Linked DNA regions of Homo sapiens: all the other regions are linked to region 1. The links are contacts of gene promoters, found by promoter capture Hi-C in human tissues and cell types (Jung and others, 2019). All regions are on one chromosome and are shown on one strand. Each heading gives the region's core, a stretch centred on a gene start or on the middle of the fragment in contact. The rest is flanking DNA. Distances are from core to core; before and after follow the strand shown. Region 1 holds the start of RBM14 (RNA binding motif protein 14). Region 2 holds the start of C11orf86 (chromosome 11 open reading frame 86). Region 3 overlaps RIN1 (Ras and Rab interactor 1).

Region 1 (2,746 bases), core at 155-2,654:
CCATACTGGCTCTTGACTCTTCCTTGAACCAGATTTGCTTCTGCCCCAGCACTCTTTGACTTGTACTTTCTGGCCGGCATGATCTTCCCTCAGAGGATGGCTTAGTTCCCTTGATTACTCCAAGTCCTCATCACCATCTAACACGCTTATGTTTTACTTATTTCTTGCCTGTTTCTCCCCACCATAAGATCCAAGAAGGTTGGGATTTCTGTCATTTTTTTTTGTTCACTGCTATATTCTTGGTGGTGTCCACATGGTAGGTGCTATTTGTTGACTGAACACGTAGGCAAATATTTCCCTGAGTTTGTCACATGTCTATGTTTTTGATGTTGTCTGCCATGCAACAATCTTATTTACATACTCAAATCTGTTTAAAAAAATTTTTGAGACGGAATCTCACTGTCGCCCATGCTGGAGTGCAGTGGCGTGATCTTGGCTCACTGCAACCTCCGCCTTCCGGGTTCAAGTGATTCTCCTGCCTCAGCCTCCCAAGTAGCTGGGATTACAGGCGCGCACCACCACACCCGGCTAATTTTGTATTTTTAGTAGAGACGGGGTTTCACCATTTTGGCCAGGCTGGTCCTGAACTCCTGACCTCCGGTGATCTGCTTGCCTTGGTCTCCCAAAGTGCTGGAATTACAGGCGTGAGCCACCGCTCCCGGACTAAAATTTTTTTTAAGGCTCAACTTTTGCTTCCTGCAGAATTAATTTTCTCGTTTATTAAACTGTTTATTATGAAAACCTTCAACATACAATAACGTCATTCCATTATTTCTTGACTGGGAATTCCATCAGGGCAGAGGCCTTTGATTTTTCACCGGCTGCCAGGACCTCAGCAACCCCAGGGAATGTTTCCAAAGAATCAATTAATGGCACGAGGGCTTCTCCGGGGCCTGCCTCAGGTCCCCTCGCGGTGCTCAGCACAGTCCTGGGAGCCGTTTGCCGACTCAAGGCGCCTGTCCTGGTTTCTCCCGCCAGGCCCGGCCTTCCCCCGTACACTCACGCGGCAACCCCCAGGCGCGGGTTTGGACAGGGCTTCCAGAATGGGAGGAGCCCTGACTTCCAATTGTACAAAGTTTTCCTGGGAGCCCGCCGGTCCCAGCCCCACCCGGGCCAGAGACCGCCTTACAGACTAGGCCTCTCTGCCGCCGGCGCCGCTCGCGCGCGTTCTCCTCTCTTCAGCCCTCCCTCTTCTTCCCAACCCCCTCTCCCGCCACGGGCTGTGGCGGTTGGTCGTCCCTTTCCCACCCCCTCAGCTAACGAGCGGGCTCTAGGCCCTCTGGGATTGGCTGTGCCTGAGCACATCTTCCCTCAGCGTTTCTGATTGGTCGCTGGACGCGCGGGATGCGAGTCCCCATTGGCTAGGCCAGGGCGCCTGCGCGGCGGGGTTCTCGGTCGCCAGCCATTCCTGAGGAGGACTGCCGGTCGTTCGGACGTCTTGCCTGTCGCTGGAGGAGAGGTCCGGGCTCTCCAGGAAGGTGGCTGCGGCGACAAAATGAAGATATTCGTGGGCAACGTCGACGGGGCGGATACGACTCCGGAGGAGCTGGCAGCCCTCTTTGCGCCCTACGGCACGGTCATGAGCTGCGCCGTCATGAAACAGTTCGCCTTCGTGCACATGCGCGAGAACGCGGGCGCGCTGCGCGCCATCGAAGCCCTGCACGGCCACGAGCTGCGGCCGGGGCGCGCGCTCGTGGTGGAGATGTCGCGCCCAAGGCCTCTTAATACTTGGAAGATTTTCGTGGGCAATGTGTCGGCTGCATGCACGAGCCAGGAACTGCGCAGCCTCTTCGAGCGCCGCGGACGCGTCATCGAGTGTGACGTGGTGAAAGGTAACGCGGAGGCGCGCTCGGGGGCGGGGGCGCGCTCGGGGCACTCTGCCTGTTAGCCACGCCCCTTACCCGGGGGTCGGTCACTGCGCGGTTGGGAGGGGTGGGGAAGTGCGCGGGAGCAGGTCGGAGGTGTTGGGGGCGCGTTGGGTAGAGCCACCCTCCTCCCCTGCGGTCCAGGAACCGTCCACCAAGTAGGAGGAAGCGGCTCTGGGTGGGTGCGGCGGCCACTGCGAGCCAAGCTACGGGGCCGGGGACGCGCCTGAGAGCCTTGCGAGTGTTCCGGGGGCGCGCCTTCTCCTGGTCTCCTGGGCCTGGCACCCAGCGGAAATTGGGAAGTGACGGGCACAAGCCGGATCATGAAGCGGGGAAGATTTCTCCACTTCCCCACTTCCTCTCCAGACGTCGGTCAGAGCAAGGGAAGAGGGAAAAGGTGGGGGCTGACGCCCCAAGGCCGCCCTCCTGTTCCCTCCCGATGAATGTGCTCAAGCGGAAGGTAACGGGGCCCTTGGACGTTTCTCGGGCTGGGGTCTTTTAGTCTTGTCTGGCATGGGTCTACTCATGGGCACAGTTACACGTGGGTACGAGAGGGGCCCCTTCCGAATCACTTTGGCCTTTCAATATTAGGTAGGTTAGGCGTGGCAGCTCTGTGCTTTTCTCCTCCCTCAAACTTGGGGTTTTTCTTTGGGCTCGATTTTACATCTGTCAACTGGAAACCCCAGCCTTTTGCATGTGCAAGAAAGCTTGTTTTATGAAGTCCCCTTCTGCGTAGTCTTTACATGCCAAGCCAGTGCCCTAGGGCAGTGTCATTCTTTTATAAGCTTGGTGACTTTGCAGGGGGGCATACTCTGGCTGAGGGGGTCCTGGGGAGGGGTCTGTGAGAGCTCTTCATTAAACAGTGGCTAAACACGGTTTAC
Region 2 (2,746 bases), core at 152-2,651, 360 kb after region 1:
CCCGCCTCAGCCTCCCAAAGTGCTAGGATTACAGGCATGAGCCACTGCTCCCAGCCTCAGGTCTTTCTTTATAGCAGCAGGAGAACGGACAAATACAACCACCAACTCACTTTGTTCGAGGGCTTGCTGTGTGCCAAGCCCTGTGGACCACATTTAATACGCACAACAATTACCCAAGTTATTTGTCCCTCTTACGAATGAAGGAGAAAAATGTGCCCAAGGTCACAAGGCTGCAAGGAATGAAGCTACAGTTTACCCAGAGGCAGTTGGTCCTCAGAGCTTGAGTGCTCAAGGATAGTGCTGTGCTGCTGGGACATTAGGGGCAGCGCTGGGCCTGGAAAAAATCCAGGCCTCCTGACTCCTAGCCTGGAGCCGTCCTGTTTCCTTCTGTTTCTTAAAAAAAAAAAAAAAAAAAAAGAAATTCTCCAGTATTGTATAACACATATACCATAAAGTTTACCATTTCAACCATTGTTGTGCAACCAATCTCTGGAACTCTTCATCTTATGAAATCTGAAAATTTACAGCCATTAAATTCTTCATTCCTCCCTCCCCCAGTGCCTGGCAACGGCCATCCTCCTTGCTGTCTTTGTGAATGTGATTGTTCTAGCTTGGAGCCATACTGATGCTTTTTTGAAAAATATATTTCTTTTTGAGACGCAGTCTTGCTCTGTCACCCAGGTTGGGTGCAGTGGCACAATCTCGGCTCACTGCAACCTCCGCCTTCTGGGTTCAAGTGATTCTCCTGCCTCAGCCTCCTGAGTAGCTGGGATTACAGGCGCCCGCCACCATGCCCAGCTAATTTTTTGTATTTTTAGTAGAGACGGGGTTTTACCATGTTGGCAAGGCTGGTCTGGAACTCCTGATCTCAGGCAATCTGCCTGCCTCGGCCTCTCAAAGTGCTAGGATTACAGGCGTGAGCCACCGGGCCTGGCCCAATTCTTAAAAGGCTGTCTCTGTTTGGTTGTTAAGCCATGGTGCTCAGTGTCAATGGATGCCGGGGCCATAGAGATTCAGAGGAGAACAAACTCTTCAGGGATGAGGTAGTCAGGGAAGCTGCCTAGAGGAGAAGGAGGAGAAGGAGGAGGGGGGAGGGAGAGGGGAGGGGAAGGAAGGGGGAGGGGAGGGGAGAAGGAGGGGGGAGGATGGGGGAGGAGGGAGGGGGGAGAGGAGGGGAGGGGGAGGGGAGGGGGAGGGGGGAAGGATAGGTGAAGGAGGGAGTGGCAATTTCCTCCCCTTGGCCTTCACTCCTTGACCCAGAAGGTGGGGAGGCAGTGGTGAGGTGACTCAGGGATGCTTGGCCCTGTGGCCTGCCCTTTGATTTATGAAAGCCACCTTGGCAGCACCAACCTTTGCCCCCAGTGATCTCTTGTCAGATGGGTGGAGGCACTGGGCCACCTCAGAGGGCCAGTGTCTTGCTGAGGGGCCGGAGCAGTCCTGTGCCTGCAGCCTCCGGAGCCATGGGAACAGGGCTGCGAAGTCAGTCCTTGCGAGAGCCCCGACCCTCCTATGGAAAGCTGCAGGAGCCCTGGGGGAGGCCCCAGGAGGGCCAACTCCGCAGGGCGCTAAGCCTCAGACAGGGGCAAGAGAAGTCCAGGTCCCAGGGCCTCGAGAGAGGCACAGAAGGGCCAGATGCCACTGCCCAGGAGCGGGTGCCGGGGAGCCTGGGGGACACAGAGCAGCTGATCCAAGCCCAGCGAAGAGGCAGCCGGTGGTGGCTGAGGCGGTACCAACAGGTATGGCTGTGGGCTGAAGGATGGAGGGTACCACAGCAGGTGGGCAGGGATTCCAGGGCAGGAAAGGTTCAGAGACAGAGCCAGCCCAGGCTGTGTACCAAGATGACAACCGAGCTGCCTGGAGATGAGGGTGCAGAGAGAGACACCCCAGAGCCACGTTTCAGAGGGCCCTGAAGGCATTTGGGATTTATCCCACAGGCACTGGGGAGCCACTGAAGGTTTTAGAGGAGGAGGGTGATATGGTAAGCGCTGTTTTTAGCTGATTGATAGTATGCTGGATGGGGGAATAGAGCAGGAGGCAAGGAGATCAGCCAGTGCAACTTCCTGGGAAGTACACTGTGTGACCCTCTCACCCCAGAGAAAAAGGGGAGATCTGGACCCCTTTGTGGGGGGCTGCAGGCTCCCTCCTCTAAGAGACAGGGTCTCCAATGAGCAGTGCTTCTCTACCTGGGGTCTACCCCCACCTCGTGGCTATGGGTGGAACAACATCTAAGCCCACCACTCAGCCCATGGGACCTCCCCCACCTCTGTCTTCCAGCAGGTAAGAAGAAGGTGGGAGAGCTTTGTCGCCATCTTCCCCAGCGTGACTCTGAGTCAGCCGGCCTCCCCGTAGCCCACACTGGGCACCATCAGCTAAAGATGCTGGAAGCCATCGTGGCCCCCTTGCTGTGCCTGGACCAGCCCACCGTGTCTGCTGACCTACCTCTTCACAGCTCTCTGGACTTTGGCTGGGTGGCCCTAGGAGGCTTCTGCCACCAGCTCACTGGAGTCGCCACGTGGCTGCCACTCTTAGCTCTGGCCCTTCCACTCCAGCACTAGCTCTCTTTGAAGATCCCAGCAGGGTCAAAAAGAAGGGGGCTCAGCTGTCTGCCCTCTGGGCTTGGGTAGGGGCCTTGGACTATGATTCTATGAAGGTTTAGAAGAAGCCTGCCCGGAATGGGGGCTGTGGACGCTCCTGCCCCACACGACCAGCTGTCAACTTCCAGGACGGAGCTTGATGAAGCCAGACC
Region 3 (2,746 bases), core at 183-2,682, 290 kb before region 1:
TGAACTCCTGACCTCAGGTGATCCACCGGCCTCGGCCTCCCAAAGTGTTGGGATTACAGGCGTGAGCCACCAGGCCCAGCCCAGAGTTTCTTGAGAAGAAAAACCACAAGACCCAGGCAGCAGCTCCCTGTGGTGCCCCATCACTGGGGAGGGCAGGGAGGGGGTCAGGTCATGCTGAGCCTGGCAAGGGTGGGAAGGGCTTGTAGAGGCCCCAGAGCCTCATTCCCATGAGGCCAGTTGTACATCCGGCCCCTGGGATCCTCCGAGCACCCTCTACAAACATTCCAGGTCCTTCCTCTGGGACTGAGCTTGACACATCCCGTGTTTGATTCCCAGAACCGAGTCCTCCCTTATACTCCCCAGGTTTCTGCCTCACTGTCCCTCACTCCTGGTTATCAAACTCCAATCAGTGAACAACATTTATTGAACACCTATGGCATTTGTGCTCAGCATTGGACTGTGTGAGGCACTAGGGGTGAGTGGTGAAACAGGGAGGGGAATAGAAGAGCCAACGGGACACTTCCTATCAGCGAGAACCTTGGGAGGGCGTGGAAGTGGGGAGGGAAGAGCTGCTGGTGGCCTAGTGACAAAAAAAATGGGAGCCGTGCAACTGGGCTGTATCTGGACTGCTCATCTGAAAGTCAATGTCTGGCTGGGTGTGGTAGCTCACGCCTGTAATCCCAGTACTTTGGGAGGCCAAGGCGGGCGGATCACCTGAGGTCGGGAGTTTGAGACCAGCCTGGCCAACATGGGGAAACCCCGTCTCTACTAGTAACACAAAAATTAGCCAGGTGTGGTGGTGCACACCTGTAGTCCCAGCTACTCGGGAGGCTGAGGCAGGAGAATCACTTGAACTGGGAGGCGAAGGTTGCTGTGAGCCGAGATGGCACCACTGCACTTTAGCCAGAGCGACAGAGCAAAACTCCATCTCAAACAAACAAACAAACAAAAAAACCCAAAAAGCCAATGTCCACGATTTCTACCTCCCAGTTGTCATGTCTGACATTTGGGCTGACGTCCCCTCTGTGCTCAGTGCCCGAGGAGAGAGCCTCTGGGGTCATCCTCCATAAGGGGACAATTCCTTCCTTCCTGGGGATGGCCCCCAAGAGGCTGGCCTTACCCAGACCCCAGAATCTAAGGGACCTGGGGGCCAGTGGCCTTGGCCCCTGCGCTGTCCCCAGGTTGCCTGATGCTGCTGGACTGCAAGGCCCGGGACCCCCTCTGCTGCTGCAGCCTTGGAGGCGCCCTCACCCCTGGGTGGTCACCCTCTCGGCAGATTCCCGGGCCGTGCACACCCCCTCGTGGTTGGTGGTCGGCACTTTTCCTTGTTTGGATTTGCTGCCTGCTCTGGGCTTCCTTGGGGGCTGCCCCGGCCTTTGTGGGTGGCTTAGAATGGAGGGTGGAGTTGGAACCTGATGCCCTGGTTTGGGCGGGGGAACCCTTAAGGACTTGCTATATGACATCCTGGGAGTCACTTTCCTGACCCTCAGTGGGCCCAACAAGTCATGGCCAAGTAAAGCTTTTGTGAGGGCCAAGAGTTTAGTGCAGAGAGCATGGTTTCTGAGCCCCCTCTCCATTCTGGAAGCTTATCTGCCAGCTGGTGGATCTCCCCAGAGATGCTGGAGGGCCTGGGAGGACTCCAAATCTTGGGGAGAGACTGTAACTTGGGTACTTTCTCCCCAGGGCCTGATTTCCAGGGGAATAACCTCCCTGAACTGGGCATCAGCAGGTGGGAGCCCTGTCTGGCAGAGAGCGGACTCCGGGAGAGAGTTAGCAGCCCAGCTCTCTCCCTCCCTTTCTGCCATGAGCTCTGCTTGTAGCAAAATCACCCATTTTGATCACTGGGACACTTCTGGGAGCCGAGCAGGGCAGCAATAGTGTCCCCACTTTACAGATGAGAGTACTGAGGCTTGCAGGTGCAGGTCCTTCTGGTGTCCAGGACAGGGGTGGGCCCCAAGCCTTTGCTGCTGTTCTGTGGCCTCTCTAAATCCTCCTGACACCTAAGAGCCATTGGAACCTTTTAGGGTCTGGAAGTCCCAGCCTGGTGGGAGATACTTGGGTGGAGCCCTGCCTCAGCCATGCCCATGAGGGGAAGGGTAAAAGGAGCTGAGACCGTCACCCTCCCCACGTCAGAGGTTGGGCATCTGTCGGATTCGCCCCCACTTGGCACACCCTCATTGCAGGCTGGCTCACCCTCAGCTGGGGGAGAAGAACAAGAGGCAAGGGGCCTTGGGCACACAGTCTGGGGGCCCCCGAAGCCCCCTCATCTTTATTCCAGTTCCTCAGATGTGGCAGTTCCCCCAGCTTCCCTGGAAACAAGTATCAGACAAAGGTGGTGGCAGACACAGGACAGGGCCCTGGGTGGGGCTTGCTGGCGCTAAAAGGATTTCTCAGCAGGCTCAGGGTCTCCCGCCCCGAATGACCCTTCTGGCCACTTCAAGCTACTCCTCTGCTGCCCGGCTTCCCTCTGCCTCTGGTTCCCCTGGCTGAGCAGGGCCTTCCTGGGCTTGACCCTGGCCCCCTTCAGCAGTTGTCTCAGACTGTTCCCGAATGTCCCTGGGGCTGGCTTTGACCCCAGCATCCCCATCTCCCTGGCACCCTTGCTCCTCCCCTCTGCTTCTTGCCTCTGACTGCCCACTGCCCTCCTCCTCTGTCACAGCCCCCTGGGTCTCAGGCCACTCCGCCCGGCGGTAGACGAGGTAGCCAGTGGTGGGCAGCCTGTGGGCCAGGGCCCCAGGGGGCAGGC

What was found. Contacts are between HindIII fragments. The study calls those that stand out against the background at their distance.
Region 2: the fragment with the promoter of C11orf86 here is called in contact with the fragment with the promoter of RBM14 in region 1 in 3 of the 25 tissues and cell types used here (adrenal gland, dorsolateral prefrontal cortex and heart left ventricle).
Region 3: a contact is called between a fragment that was not itself captured here and the fragment with the promoter of RBM14 in region 1, in 1 of the 25 tissues and cell types used here (thymus).

The regions. Positions count from the first base shown.
Region 1 is chr11:66,615,226-66,617,971 of GRCh38, forward strand. RBM14 (RNA binding motif protein 14) reads left to right here and starts at 1,405. Exons shown (of 3, transcript NM_006328.4): 1 at 1,405-1,832. The coding sequence starts at 1,496. It overlaps RBM14-RBM4 (RBM14-RBM4 readthrough), which reads left to right and starts at 1,405. Exons shown (of 2, transcript NM_001198846.2): 1 at 1,405-1,832. The coding sequence starts at 1,496. RefSeq lists enhancers at 881-990, 1,355-2,288, 1,421-1,650. The HindIII fragment of the contact is 10,275 bases long and covers 1-2,746 here.
Region 2 is chr11:66,973,903-66,976,648 of GRCh38, forward strand. It overlaps C11orf86 (chromosome 11 open reading frame 86), which reads left to right and starts at 1,402. Exons shown (of 2, transcript NM_001353554.2): 1 at 1,402-1,736; 2 at 2,275-2,746. The coding sequence starts at 1,461. The coding sequence ends at 2,349. RefSeq lists an enhancer at 2,083-2,586. The HindIII fragment of the contact is 14,679 bases long and covers 1-2,746 here.
Region 3 is chr11:66,329,835-66,332,580 of GRCh38, forward strand. It overlaps RIN1 (Ras and Rab interactor 1), which reads right to left. Exons shown (of 10, transcript NM_004292.3): 10 at 407-2,746. The coding sequence ends at 2,442. Among named protein-coding and RNA genes, the nearest start is that of RIN1, 5.2 kb to the right of the region's middle. The HindIII fragment of the contact is 6,220 bases long and covers 1-2,746 here.